Linked DNA regions of Homo sapiens: all the other regions are linked to region 3. Evidence: promoter capture Hi-C in 16 types of primary human blood cells and fetal thymus (Javierre and others, 2016). All regions are on one chromosome and are shown on one strand. Each heading gives the region's core, a stretch centred on a gene start or on the middle of the fragment in contact. The rest is flanking DNA. Distances are from core to core; before and after follow the strand shown.

Region 1 (2,800 bases), core at 246-2,745, 150 kb before region 3:
TTGTATGCCATTTTCCTTAAGGGCTCCCATACTCTAGTATTTTTCAAAATGATGTACTGAATACATTTTCTTTTCAAATGTCTGATGACGTGACTGATCACAGCAGCCCTACAGAACACGAAGCAAATCAAATGTACTCCAGTTGTAGTGAGAGTAGAAATCCTGAGATAGAGTTAAACTGTATTGAAAGGGTTAATCTTCCTTCCTTTATCCCCCACCCAATTGCTAGTGAAGTGATTCTTAGATTTAAATCAGTATTTAGAATTTTGACAGTGATAAACAATGACAAAGAATAATACAGTTTATTTTTGTAGAGATTTAAATTCAATTCAACACACATTTATTATGAACCTATAATGACAGAAAACATTGGAATATTTGTGCTTCTCAACTTCTTCACTTTTGAATAATATGTTCTTACTACTTTTGGCATTTTCATGAAAGTATGTTTAATAAATATTAATTGAATGAAATATGAACCTTTGTGGGCAAAATTGGTTAGACTTGGCCTTTTTTTCATGAAGTCTTCATTAAGTATTAGTCTTATGATATCATCTAAATCTTCATATTCTGAACATATTGTTAAGAAAGAGTAAGAAACATGAATGTGAGCAAGCCATTGAAAGCTGTTTAACTATTACAAACACAGTAATTTTGTTACTACTACAGCAGATCAGAAATTACAGCAACTAATCATACTCTTGTATTGGGAGAGTTCTTTTTATAGTGTAGAATTCCATTATAACAAATTAGGCCATAATGAAAATTCGTTGTTTTTTGGTTTTTGGTTTTTTTTTTTTTTTTGAGACAGAGTCTTGCTCTGTCACCAAGCTGGAGTGCAGTGGTATGATCTCAGCTCACTGCAACATCTGCCTCCTGGATTCAAGCGATTCCCCTGCCTCAGCCTCCTGAGTAGCTGGAACTACAGGCGCACCACCATGCCCAACTAATTTTTGTATTTTTAGTGGAGACAGGGTTTCACCATATTAGCCAGGATGGTCTCGATCTCTTGACCTCGTGATCCACCTGCCTTGGCCTCCCCAAAGTGCTGGGATTACAGGCGTGAGCCGCTGTGCCTGGCATGAAAATTCTTATGTACTGAAATGTTGGATTATTCCAGTGAAGAGCCAGATGTAGTCCGTATGGTTTCTTACGTATCAGAATGCAATTGCAACAATGAAAATGGGTTATTTCTTGAAGTTATGTAATCAAATTATGCTTGTATTTTGGTGAAATATATCTGGTGTTTTATTTTTCTAAGAGAAAGTTGTGCTTTAATTGATATTAATTGCAATTTCTTGGCAGAATTATATTTAACTGAGGCGAAAGTGACAGTAGGTTTTAGAGTTTTAGAAGCATCAAATGGTAGACTTGGATGAAAGCAAAAATTCTTTTCTATGGAACTGTTATTTTTAAAAAAGGACATAAAATAATGTATTTTGAAGGTTTGTTTTGATACTTTATAACTCCAGATTTTTTTTACATTTGTAAAGATCAGGCAAATCACTATCTAATAAATCCATTTGGTTAAGTTTGGGTTCCATTGTTGTGGCAGCTTTTCTGACGAATGTGTATTGTATAATAGATGATGAGTTATGAGTTTGAGCCAAGGGCCAGTGGGGCCAATTCTGAGCTTGCTTCCTGCTTTCTACTCTGTCATAGAAAGTATCAATATAATGTCAGAGGTTCAGATCTCTGTGTTAATATTGCAGAGCTCTGACATCAATTTCTCATTCTGAAGCAAGTTAATTGTTCTGTAATATAATTGAGGGGGTGTAGGGGGATTCTAATTAAGTACAAAAAATTATGGAGCCAAACCGCTGGCATTCAAATGCTAGTTCCACCACTTACTAGCTGTGTGATCTTGGGCAAGTTACTTACCTGTAAAATGGGGATAATTATAGTACTTATCTCACTTGATACTTAGCAGATTATGTGAATACATAGACATCCTCGAACAGTACCTGGTGCAAAATAAGTTACTGTGTAACTGTTAGCTTTTATAAATAGTATTGTTATTCGGCAGAGGGAGTCCCTACAGAGGAGCCAGGAGCTGATGTTAGGAGCTACAATAACATGGCATTCTGGTTATATAATTAAATGCAAGTTGTTTGCTTTTGCAAAAGAAAATGGAAAACAAGGAAGGGAGAGCCAATATTTTTAGAACTATAGAAACGAGAGTAACAAATCTTATAACAGGGAGTAACCTCTGGTTTTGCGATCAGCTGTTTTTCATTTATACCGCAGATGGGCAGAAAAAGTACTGGTCAATAAGCATAGGGGTTTGTAGAGTAAGATGATTCTGCACTACATATACAAGAAATTGCTTCTGGTTACTTGCATGCTTCAAAGGTTTGATCTAGAAGTTTGCACATAAATTGAGAAATTAGGGTAAGAATTAAAAATGTAGTAAATGAAGATTGAACAGTACCCACACCACCCTGCAATAAGATTTGATCCTCCCTGTTATATTTTGTAGTTTGATGTCATGTAATCTATTAGAATTTTATTAATTCTGCTTACACAGACAGCCATCTGGACCTTCTCTAAGCAAGACCAGTCCTAGTATACAACTGAAATGATTGATGGGCTCTGGAATTGATTAGTTGTTCTGTGAGACAAATGAAGTGTTTTGGCAGAAAATACAAGAGGTTGCTGCTTGTGGTCAGACACAAAAGCCTGTAGAATTTCAAAGAGATGCTTTAATCATTGACTTATAAAGTTTCCATTTTTAAACAATAATGGATTTTGAAAATATTTCCCAAATATCTTTTCATTGGCTGCTGTCTAGTCCTGATTA
Region 2 (2,700 bases), core at 24-2,523, 220 kb before region 3:
TAGGTAAGGAAACAATTAGACAAATTCAAATTGAGGGATATGTTATAAAACAGTTGGACTCTTAAAAAATACCAACAATGTGGAAGACAAAAAAGCTGAAGATACATGAAACTCAATGCTGTGTGTGGATCTTGATTGGTTCCTGGTGTGGGAGAAGAAAGCCATAAAGGACATTATTGGGACAATCAGGAAAATCTGAATGTATAGCCTCTATATTGTATAATAGTAATTGATGATAAATTTCCTGAGTTTGTGTAAGCTGATCTATTTAGGGATGAAGTGTTATGATGCGTATAAGTAATTCTTAAGGAATTCAGTGAAAATAAATTTAGAAAACCTCAGAAAGATATTATATTCATCATAGAAGCAGGAAGGTAGTGAAAAAATGTGGGATTGAGTTCTGTTTGACAGCAAATCAGGGAAATCGAGAAACACTGGTTGGAATTTAGAAAGAATTGGCAGGGAAAAACCAAGAAGAAGGCCTGTCCTGGCAGCCTGTTGTGGGGGCAGGGGGGTAGATGACCCAAAAGGAAGCTCAGGACTAAAATGTTGCTTTTGCCATTTATATTGTAGGAAGTCCCTAACTTACTCATTAGTATTCTTTAGTTGCTGTTGTTGTTTTTTTTTTTTTTTTTTTTTTTTTTTTTTTGAGACAGAATTTTGCTCTGTTGCCCAGGCTGGAGTGTGGTGGTGCCATCTCAGCTTACTGCAACCTCTGCCTCCCAGGTTCAAGCAATTCTCCTGCCTCGGCCTCCAGAGTAGCTGGACTACAGGCGCACACCACCACGCCTGGCTAATTTTTGTATCTTTAGTAGAGATGGGGTTTCACCATGTTGGCCAGGCTGGTCTCAAACTCCTGACCTCAGGTGGTCCACCTGCCTCAGCCTCCCAAAGTGCTGGGATTACAGGCGTGAGCCACCAAGCCTGGCCAGTATTCTTATTTCTGCCCTCACCATCCCTTACTTTTGAAGTCCCAGACTAAGTCCCCAGGATCAGTTACTAGAAGCTTATAGATGAGATAACAGCAGAAAGGGAAGGTGGATTTCTTGTATCTTAGTAAGAAGTTTGATGCATTTTCCTTGGGAATATTGTTTTTTATGTGATGATTAGTTTCTGTACGACCAAAATGCCATAAGCACAGTTAATTTATGAGAATAATCTCTATTAGTCTGTAGATCATATATCCTCAATAGGGGTGAAATTTTGTTTGAGGAAATTATAAAATCTTAGATTACAGTGGTTTGTGGTCTTTCAAAATTTAATAGCTATGCATTGTATCTGTGTTTTTAAAATTTCACGGGGAGGACGATTAGGAAAAAAAATGTCTGAAAAGACTGCTTAGGTAGGGCAATAAGGTCTGTATAGCTCTAGACCAATGTAAATGCAAAAAGACAGAGCTTCTCTATCCATAGCTTATTATCTCTATATTCAGAGACCCTTGAAATGTGCATACAGTTTTTTTAATAATAAGAAAAATGCTGTTTGTGTTATTTGCATAATGACAGGCCATTTTGGATATTCCATATTGTAGGGAAGCTTGGAAAGCACTTGGTGATTCAAGCCCCAGCCAAGCAATGCAGGAATATATCGCAGTAGTTAAAAAACTAGATCCAGGTTGGAATCCTCAGGTAAGACTTAATGATTATAAATAATACTTTCCAAAAACTTATGATCCTTCTCTGAAATAAATGTCTAAAACTAAACTTAGTTTTAAGTAACATGCTTAAAGTTTTACTTTCTTGAAATATTTTAAAGTTATTGTAATATTTATCTAATAAAATAATTGCTGGCCAGGTGTGGTGGCTCATACCTGTAATCCCAGCACTCTGGGAGGCCAAGCCAGGTGGTTCACCTGAGGTAAGAGTTCAAGACCGGCCTGGCCAGCATGGTGAAATCTCATCTCTACTAAAAATACAAAAATTAGCTGGACGTGGTGGTACACACCTGTAATCCCAGCTACTCAGGAAGCTGAGGCAGGGGAATCAATTGAACCTGGGAGGCTGAGGCTGCAGTGAGCCAAAATCAGGCCACTGCACTCCAGCCTGGGTGACAGTGTGAGACTCCATCTCAGAAAAATGAAAAAAATTAATAATAATTACTTAAATAGTAATATAACCAGCTACTGATGCTGAGAACTTCTCTGAGTTGCAGAGTTTTTGAAAGCAGAAAAATTTGAATTACATAAGAATTGGAAAGAGTTTAACTTGAGATTATCATGCTGGAAAAAAGGTTACTCTTGGATTTCGTTTTTATGATCACTTTCTATGCAAGGGCAAAATGCTTATTAGGGATAAAAGATGAATAAGACATGATTTCTGCCATTATGTAGTTTAAAGTGTAATAGAGAAGATAAAACATATCAAAATATATATCTTTAATAGTATAAAACAATAATAATGTAAATGCTAGGGAATCCAGCAGGAAAAGGGATTGCTTTGGACTTTGGAAGCATTGGATATTGTTCACTTAAATATACCCTGTTTTTCTCATATACTTATTGGAGAACATCTAGAAAGAATTTAATAAAGGTGAGGTTACTATTTAAGAATATTGTTAAATGATTAACAGGTATTTCAGTGAGATAGAGGTTGCATTGTACCATGTAAAAAATGCAAATTGAATTTTTTTCAATAAAAATATTAAGGCCAAACATTTTAGCAGTTAATGAATTAAACAATTTTCAGTGTTTTTGTAATAATT
Region 3 (2,700 bases), core at 34-2,533:
ACAGCAGTGCAGTCTGTCGCAGGAGTGGCAACTCGTAAAGCGGGGGTTGGCCTTGCTCTGGCCTCAGGCTTAGTGATTTGCTACTGCAAACCTGCACAACGGGGAGTCCCTGCACCACCACTGGCCAGAGAGTTCTGGCTTTCTGACCATGGGACTGCAGCCCAAGGCATGGCAGGTGTCCAGCCAGCAATCCAGAGAGATGCAGCCCAAGAACCACTTAGAACCCTTTGGACAATTTTAGGGCTGCTCCCTAAATTACTCTTCCCAACCAAGGTAGGCCAAAAAAAAATTGCTGGTTCCTGGAAATGACCAAAACTGTCCTCCAATTGAGTCAGCTAGGACAGCAGAGAAAGCTTTCAGAGGGGTAGACTTGCAAGCTCATCTAAACCAACTCCTTCAAAACAGACTCCAAATATTTCACCCTACAAGGGATGGGGAACTCTGGAAGACTGGCATCAGCCGATATGGCTGAACAGACTGCAGGTTTGGAATCCAAATGTGTCTACAAATGTTCACTGATTGATTGTCATTTTGTTCTCCCCACATTTTAGTTTTGCTCATTTTACAGCCCACAGCCTGTCTTGTGGAATAAATGATACAAGCAATTGAAGAAGGCACACTGTGCACCAAGGGGACGACTCAGGCAATCTGCAGCGGTGGTCCAGGGCTACTCAGCTCAGCCTCAGTCACCTGCAATGAAAACCACCTCTTGCCATCAGAGTCAATGATATAGATGGGACACTTAAAAACCAAAACAGGTTCATATTCTCTGGTTTGTAGGAAAGAATTCATATCTTCACAGCAAAAATAAAAAAGGAGGGGGCATGTTTTTAATATCAAACTGGCCATCAAAGTGTTCACTGACCTTTAATAACTGATCTTTTCATTTTGAAATATAGGGTTCAATAAGGATGGTCCAGAAATCACTTTTATTTTACTCAAGGGCTGTGAGGCCTCTACCTTAGGAGTCTCAGTTCTGGTGAGAGCAGTGTTTTGGGAGGCATTGTGTGAGACACACCAGTTGGAGCAAAGTTCCCAAAGGCCAAGGGGGCCTATCACAGTCACCTTGTGCTACCAAAGCACTGAGCAGCCAAGCCCCTAAGCAGAACAGCAGGGGAGAGACCCAACAAGCCAGTGTCCCTAGAGCTCTAGGCCATTACCCCCTGTGCTGTGTTCTGAGATGAGTCTGCTCTCCCACTGCTTCCCCAGGGAAACAATGCCCTAGTGTGGTCTCACAGCCTTCTAGGAATCAGCGGAGGACTTCCATTGAAAATAATGGAAATTCACATTGGCGTACTTTCGATCCTTAAAAGGCAAGTCTCTTTTGATCCTTGAAGATATTCTCTCAAGCCAGGGGGGCAGGTAGGGTGGGGAGGAGAGAAGTTTAAAAAGGAGGATGATCCATTTCATCGAGCCAAGAGCCTGGGCTAGTTGGAAAGTCGGGATAGCCTACACTGCTTCCTGTGGAGATGTCAGAGGTGGGTCCCCCAGCCATGGCTCTCAGCGTCTGGCTTACTCCCTGCCCTGCATGCGCAATGATGCCCAAATTACTGTCCACCGTGTAATCCAGCCCATTGAGCAAAGGAGCGTGGGATGGCAGGGACGATATGGAGGATGGAGACTGGGGGATTCCATAGGGGCTCCCATCCCTCAAGTCCTGATAGGATTGTCCTGTCCCGTCCATGGAGAAGCTCCCATTCATTAACTGTCCGCCTGTAACGTCCCCCACGTTGCCATAAATCCTATTGGTGTGGCCAAGTTCTGAGAGAATTTGATCCTCTGTGGACAAAAGAACGGAGATTTATTGTCAGCTGCCAGGACTCTGATGGTCCCCTGCTCTTCACAACCTAGGAACACACATGACCAGGAAAGATGCCCAAGGATGGCAGCTGCCTTGCAGCCAAGCATGGGTCAGACACACCAATATGGCAGCCTGATATCCAGAGGCCAACCCAGGCCAAGGAGAAAAACAAGAAACACCTGCAAAGACTAAATTCCCAGGTCCCAGAAGGATGGACAAATGTTTGGTGAGCTCGTTGGTCCCTTGTGGCTCGTGTACTAATACTCTGGCTACACTGAGGAGGATGAATGCCTAAGGCTGGGTGGGTCAGATGTCTCCACATCACAAATGGAAACTACATGCTGACAACATTTACCCTGAAAGCTTTCAAGCTGAGAAAGGGCTTGGTTTAGTTGATTGGGAAGCAAGCAGGCCCATATGGTCAGGGAAGCTGAGGACCACTCTTAGACATCTGTACAAAATCCTTCTGGTCTATCTGGAAGAGAGGTTCAATATCAAAGGACTTGGTTTCTGTCTGTATTCAATAAGCTCTTCACTGGGGACAAAGAATTGACTTGATTAAGGCAAATGAACCTTCTTTTTTCTTAAAGAATTTCATTAAGGGGATCTAATGGAATCTTTGCCACTTGAAAGAATTTCTCTCTCCAACAGAGGTGAGCAGTTTTAGTCTTTGAGAAATTATTCCCAGAGAAACCAATGATAGGTCAGCCCAGGGACCCACCTGCACCCAACAGAAATGAGCTTAACAATCCAGTATGTTCTAGGTGTTGACTTCAACAGCCCAGATGAGATTGACTTTCCCAATCCTGCCAAGAAGCCTAAAAGGTGAGTATTAGTCCCATGAGCTGTCCCCAAGGCCTCACGGGCCCTGTGTTCTCAGAGGAGGCTGCCCTCTAGGG
Region 4 (2,700 bases), core at 99-2,598, 130 kb before region 3:
TTACTGGCTAATAATTTCAATATTTTTGTGTCTGAGTGAATAGGGAAGCCTGAAGAGAGGGGGAGAGACCAGGAACAGCCAGTCAGTGGAGCAGTCAGAACACACAAAGTATCTGTTGGTTAAATTTGCCATCTTTCTCAGTGTGGTTTGTAGCACTCCAAAACAATTACAATAGTAACATCAGAGATCACTGATCATTACCCTAACAGATATAATAATAATGAAAAACTTTGAAGTATTGCAAGAATTACCTCAGTGTGACACAGACATGAAGTGAGCACATCTTGTTGGAAAAATGGCACCAATAGTTGGCTTAACTCAGGGTTGCTACAAATCTTCAATTTACAAAAAACACAGTATTTGCAAAGTGCAATGAAGCATAGTGCAATAGAACAAGGTATGCCTGTATAGCTTTCTTTTTTAAATAAATTTGGCATGATTGCTTCCCTTGATTTTTTAAATTGTAGTTTTTTATCTTTGTGCTTGTGAGTTAAAATTTTTATAAAGTTAATACATTTGTTTTTTTAAAAAATCAAATGTTACTATTAGTCTTATAAACAAAAAAATTCTCTCTTACCTGCATCCTTCTTACATTTTATTCTAGCTCCTTTAAGGCAAAAATTTTCTCTTTTTTTTAGACAGATTCTCAGGCTGGAGTGCAGTGGCATGATCAGGGCTCACTGTAGCCTCTGCCTCCTGGGCTCAAGCGATCCTCCCACCTCAGCCCCCAGGTAGCTAGGACCACAGGTGTGCACTACCATGCCTGGCTAATTTTTGTATTTTTAGTAGAGATGGGGTTTCACCATGTTGGCCAGGCTGGTCTCGAACTCCTGAGCTTTAGTAATCAGCCTGCCTCAGCCTCCCAAAGTGTTAGGGTTACAGATGTGAGCCACTGCACCCGGCCAGACTTCCAGTTCTTTTAATGTGTCTTTAGCACCTTACCTACATAATTCTAAATAATATACTTCTATTTCTTGATTTTTCAACTTTAGACATTATTGATTTGTTTCTGTGTTATATTTAGATTTAACTGTTTTACTCATCTTCCCTCTCTCTCTCTGACCCTCCTAACGTAATTATATCACAACTTTTTTATTTTATTTTATTATTATTATACTTTAAGTTTTAGGGTACATGTGCACAATGTGCAGGTTAGTTACATATGTATACATGTGCCATGCTGGTGTGCTGCTCCCATTAACTCATCATTTAGCATTAGGTATATCTCCTAATGCTATCTGTCCCCCTCCCCTCACCCCACAACAGTCCCCAGAGTGTGATGTTCCCCTTCCTATGTCCATGTGTTCTCATTGTTCAATTCCCACCTATGAGTGAGAACATGCAGTGTTTGATTTTTTGTCTTTGCGATAGTTTACTGAGAATGATGATTTCCAATTTCATCCATGTCCCTACAAAGGACATGAACTCATCATTTTTTATGGCTGCATAGTATTCCATGGTGTATATGATATCACAACTTTTAATTTCAGCTTTCTGATTGAATCTCTGTTGAATCAATATTAATATTATTATGACTATGTAAATACTCATTGCTAAGCTGTGGATTGTACTTGTGTGTATCAGTCAGCTTTTGCTGTGGCACAACCCCCAAATTTCAGTTGCTTACAGCAACAAACATTTGTTTTTTTGCTTATATCACTGTCTCATGAGATGAGTGACACCATCTCATTTATATATTCTGATAATGCTCTTACTTGATTTCTTTATGTTTATCTGATATTTCAAAAGGGTTTTGGATCAGTTGAGACAGTCTGTATATTTTATCTACTTTTATTATTAATAGTATGAGTGAAGGATGATGATAATATAACAAATCAATAAGTAGGCCACTTAACTTTTCAAAGTCACAGTTTTTTCACTGGAAGTATCTTGTGTGTACTATATGGTGCCTGTTAATATTTATCTTTCAAATAACACATAATACTTTATACAATGCATGTGATAGTTTACAGAGTACTTTCACTTATTACTATATTATCTCTACAACAGTTCTCTAAGGCAGATATTGTCCTTGTTTTACAGACAGGAACTGAAGTTCAGAGACCTACATTTACTTGCTCAAATCCATATAACTGCTAAGTAGAAACCAGGTCTGGGAGAGTATTCTTCCTACCACTAGATTTTAGAAGGATAAATAAAAAGAAGAAAAAGAAGGATAAGCAGTTGTCATTTGGCCTTCCCTGTGTTATGCTCTGGTTTGCAGCAATTTCTTTTATAAAATATTACTGGAAGTCAAATCCACATGTGACCTCCACAAAGATCACTGGATGGACAACAGTGATAGGGGTGGAATAAGTGCCTAGAACACAGATAGCTTACACTAAATAACACATATTTTGTGTGTGTAAAGACAAGGAAAACTTGGCAAAATGTATTGTTTCTGCCATTTTGTTACTTTGATGTAGTGCTGCTTTCCAGATCTTCCAGTTTGTTAACCATGCAGCTACCTTTACCCTCAGCCTGCCAGAACGTTGTATTTCATGAACAGATGAAGTGCTTACACATTCATAGACTGAGACGCCAAGAATTCAGTTGGGTTCTCTCATTGCTCCAAGCAGATTTCTGCCCTCTCAGCCATGACAATTCAGGCTGAGCTTTGAATACTGATGGCAAACCCTTTTATTATTAATCAGGGATTTGTATGAATTAATTTAAGAACATAAGGGAGGTGGGAGCTTA
Region 5 (2,768 bases), core at 159-2,658, 170 kb before region 3:
GGAAAGGCTGAAATTTGGAGGATTGGATAAAATACTTGTTCATATCATTTCTGTTCTCATTGCTTTTATTTAAAATTATTTTCCAATGCTAATTTAAGCATTTATGCAACATTTCTAGAGAACTGACATTTTTATAAATGTCTGGGTTTTTTTGTTTGTTTGTTTTGGGACAGAGTCTCACTCTATCACCCAGGCTGGACTGTCGGGGGTTATCTCAGCTCACTACAACCTCTCCCTCCCGGGTTCAAGCAATACTCCTGCTTCAGCCTCCCAAGTAGCTGGGATTACAGATATGCACCACCATGCCCAGCTAATTTTTGTATTTTTAGTAGAGATGGGGTTTTACCATGTTGGCCAGGCTGGTCTCAAACTCCTAACCTCGGGTAATCCGCCTGCCTCTGCCTCCCAAAGTGCTAGGATTACAGGCATGAGACTGCACCTGGCTAAATGTCTGTTTTTTAAAGGTTGTAGGAGATGATTTTTTAAAATATTGCTGTGTGTTTGTAATTTTAAGAGAAACAGGTTAAAAACATACGTTTATGGAGTTCCCCTTTCTTGAAAAATTTTATAAATATTACTGTTATAAGTAGCAACCAACAATATTTTCATGGTAAAGTTTTCTTTTTAATGCTGTGACAAATGGTAGATGAGATGAAACCAATATTCTTACTTTTCTACTTGAAATGAATAGCTATTCATGTTTCAGGAAAAAATTTAGTATTTCAAAAGGATTATCAGAAAAGTGTTCCTCTTTTAAGGGTTTAGAATGATAGTATTAATCTAGCAACTAAATTATGCATAATTTATCAGAATAATTTTGCTTCAAAAATGTTTAAAGTTTTCTCTTTGAACTAATGGAGTACTTTATGTAAACATTTTAAAAGTACACTTAAGGCTGGGTGTGGTGGCTCACACCTGTAATCTCAGCACTTAGGGAGGCTGAGGTGGGTAGATCGCTTGAGCCCAGGAGTTAAAGACCAGCATGGGTGACATGGTAAAACCCTGTCTCTACCAAAAATACAAAAAAAAAAAAAAATTATCCCGGCGTGATGGTGCTTGCTTGTGGTCCCAGCTACTTGGGAGGCTGAGGTGGGAGGAGATCCCTTGAGCCTGGGAAGCAGAAGTTGAATGAGCCAAGATCACCCACTGTACTCCAGCCTGGGTGACAGAATGAGACCCCATCCCCCCCAAAAAAAAGTACACTTAAGAAACAGACAAAATTTTAATTTAGAATATTGTCAGTATGTAATAATGGTTTCCAAAATAGCTTGGAGAAGTAATATAATGTAATTTAATAGAACACAGGCTTTGGAATATCAAAGGATCTTGGTGTGAATCCCAATTCTGCCACTTCTGTGGCATTGGATACTTCACCTCTTTTCAGTTTTTGAATCTGTAAAATAAATATTTACTTATATTTCATCAAATCTTTTTTTTTTCTTTTGTAGAGACAGGGTCTCACCATGTTGTCTAGGCTGGTTTTGAACTCCTGAGCTCAAGTGATCCTCCTTCCTCAGCCTTTCAAAGTGCTGGAATTAAAGGCATGAGCCACTGCACCTGGCCAAATCTAAGGCAGACATTTATTCAGTTTTTAATATTTTTGAAATCTGTATGAGTCTTAGTGTATTATATTTAATTGGCTAGTTTTTCTTTCTGAACATTACAGAAAATAATGGTGCTTCTTATAATTGAGGATATCTTAGATTAAATAAAATACAGTGATAATGCCAGCTTTATAGACTCGTTTTGAAGTGGAAGTTGGATAGTATAAGCACATAGAAAATATTCCTTAAGTATTAGTTTTCTATCTCTTTTTCTTATAACGAAGTATGTTAGAGTTTTTATGATTGGTTTGTTTGGGGGATTTGTTGTTGTTTTATCAAGAGAATCAGGAGTTTAGAGCTATTAGGTAAAGACCATAGGTCAATATTTTAAGTCCCCACATCACAACATCTTGTATCTATATTGCTGAAACACTTTTGCGTTGGAGAAATGGCCATGTTTTGGGCAATAATAATTATTGTATTAGCTAACACTTACAAAATGGCCACTTTGCACTGGATACTGTTTTATTTATGTATAAATATAAATAGGTATGAAATAGGTACTATTATTCCCATTTTTACAAATGAGGAAACTGAGGCAAAGAAGTAGATTAATTTTCCCAGCATTCTACAGTTAGACTATAAATGAATTAAACAAAACAGTAAAACAAATCCAAAAAAGGTAGCACACAGAAGCAAGAAACCTCTTTGCATAGATTAGCTTGATAATCTTAGGAATAGAAGAAAAAGTTTCACAAGGCTTTAAATCTTGACTCTAAAACTGACTAAGGTGGAGTCTGAATCAAGTGATAAAGATTTAGCCAACAACTTATCCTTTCCCTTTTGAGTGAAGGAGCATTTTAGTTTCTCAACTAATAGAGTCTCAGGCAATGTAAGAACTGGCAAATTTTATCCTGTTCGCTGCCAAATTGGACTCTATTTAATTGCTGATGCAACATAAAAGTGACTTAATGGATTTTGAGTAGAGAGAAATGGAATAAACTTCTAAGCCTCTATGAAAGAAATTTCACTGGAGTGGATATCAAGAGGGTAAAGTAGCCAAAGTTTATCCACTCTGGTAGATGAAGTGTATAGAAAGGAAAACTAACGCATCTTTGGCATCTTTATTCTGGATTCAATCTGATAATGGCAGGTTATTTTTAAAATATTATTTCTGCCTAAGATATAATCTTTTTATTTCCCCACAAAACATTGTGACCATGT

Evidence for each region. The method cuts DNA at HindIII sites, captures the fragments that hold promoters and counts their contacts. A CHiCAGO score of 5 or more calls a contact.
Region 1: a contact is called between a fragment that was not itself captured here and the fragment with the promoter of LHX4-AS1 in region 3, in 8 of 17 cell types (neutrophils, monocytes, endothelial precursors and 5 more). The highest score is 13.1, in neutrophils.
Region 2: a contact is called between a fragment that was not itself captured here and the fragment with the promoter of LHX4-AS1 in region 3, in 3 of 17 cell types (endothelial precursors, monocytes and M1 macrophages). The highest score is 5.7, in endothelial precursors.
Region 4: a contact is called between a fragment that was not itself captured here and the fragment with the promoter of LHX4-AS1 in region 3, in 7 of 17 cell types (neutrophils, M1 macrophages, M2 macrophages and 4 more). The highest score is 15.8, in neutrophils.
Region 5: a contact is called between a fragment that was not itself captured here and the fragment with the promoter of LHX4-AS1 in region 3, in 1 of 17 cell types (monocytes). The highest score is 5.0, in monocytes.

Annotation. Positions count from the first base shown.
Region 1 is chr1:180,425,923-180,428,722 of GRCh38, reverse strand. All of the region lies in intron 4 of ACBD6 (acyl-CoA binding domain containing 6), which reads left to right. It overlaps LOC105371637 (a long non-coding RNA gene), which reads left to right. Exons shown (of 2, transcript XR_922334.3): 1 at 1-2,800. Among named protein-coding and RNA genes, the nearest start is that of MIR3121, 11 kb to the left of the region's middle. The HindIII fragment of the contact is 3,094 bases long and covers 1-2,800 here.
Region 2 is chr1:180,491,197-180,493,896 of GRCh38, reverse strand. ACBD6 (acyl-CoA binding domain containing 6) reads left to right here. Exons shown (of 8, transcript NM_032360.4): 3 at 1,532-1,628. Among named protein-coding and RNA genes, the nearest start is that of ACBD6, 10 kb to the left of the region's middle. The HindIII fragment of the contact is 530 bases long and covers 1,009-1,538 here.
Region 3 is chr1:180,273,264-180,275,963 of GRCh38, reverse strand. LHX4-AS1 (LHX4 antisense RNA 1) reads left to right here and starts at 1,283. Exons shown (of 5, transcript NR_037642.1): 1 at 1,283-1,313; 2 at 1,852-2,027; 3 at 2,566-2,626. LHX4 (LIM homeobox 4) reads right to left here. Exons shown (of 6, transcript NM_033343.4): 6 at 1-1,779. The coding sequence ends at 1,385. It also overlaps a transcript of ACBD6 not described here. The HindIII fragment of the contact is 1,811 bases long and covers 356-2,166 here.
Region 4 is chr1:180,407,079-180,409,778 of GRCh38, reverse strand. All of the region lies in intron 5 of ACBD6 (acyl-CoA binding domain containing 6), which reads left to right. Among named protein-coding and RNA genes, the nearest start is that of MIR3121, 30 kb to the left of the region's middle. The HindIII fragment of the contact is 2,888 bases long and covers 1-2,700 here.
Region 5 is chr1:180,444,438-180,447,205 of GRCh38, reverse strand. All of the region lies in intron 3 of ACBD6 (acyl-CoA binding domain containing 6), which reads left to right. Among named protein-coding and RNA genes, the nearest start is that of MIR3121, 7.4 kb to the right of the region's middle. The HindIII fragment of the contact is 5,556 bases long and covers 1-2,768 here.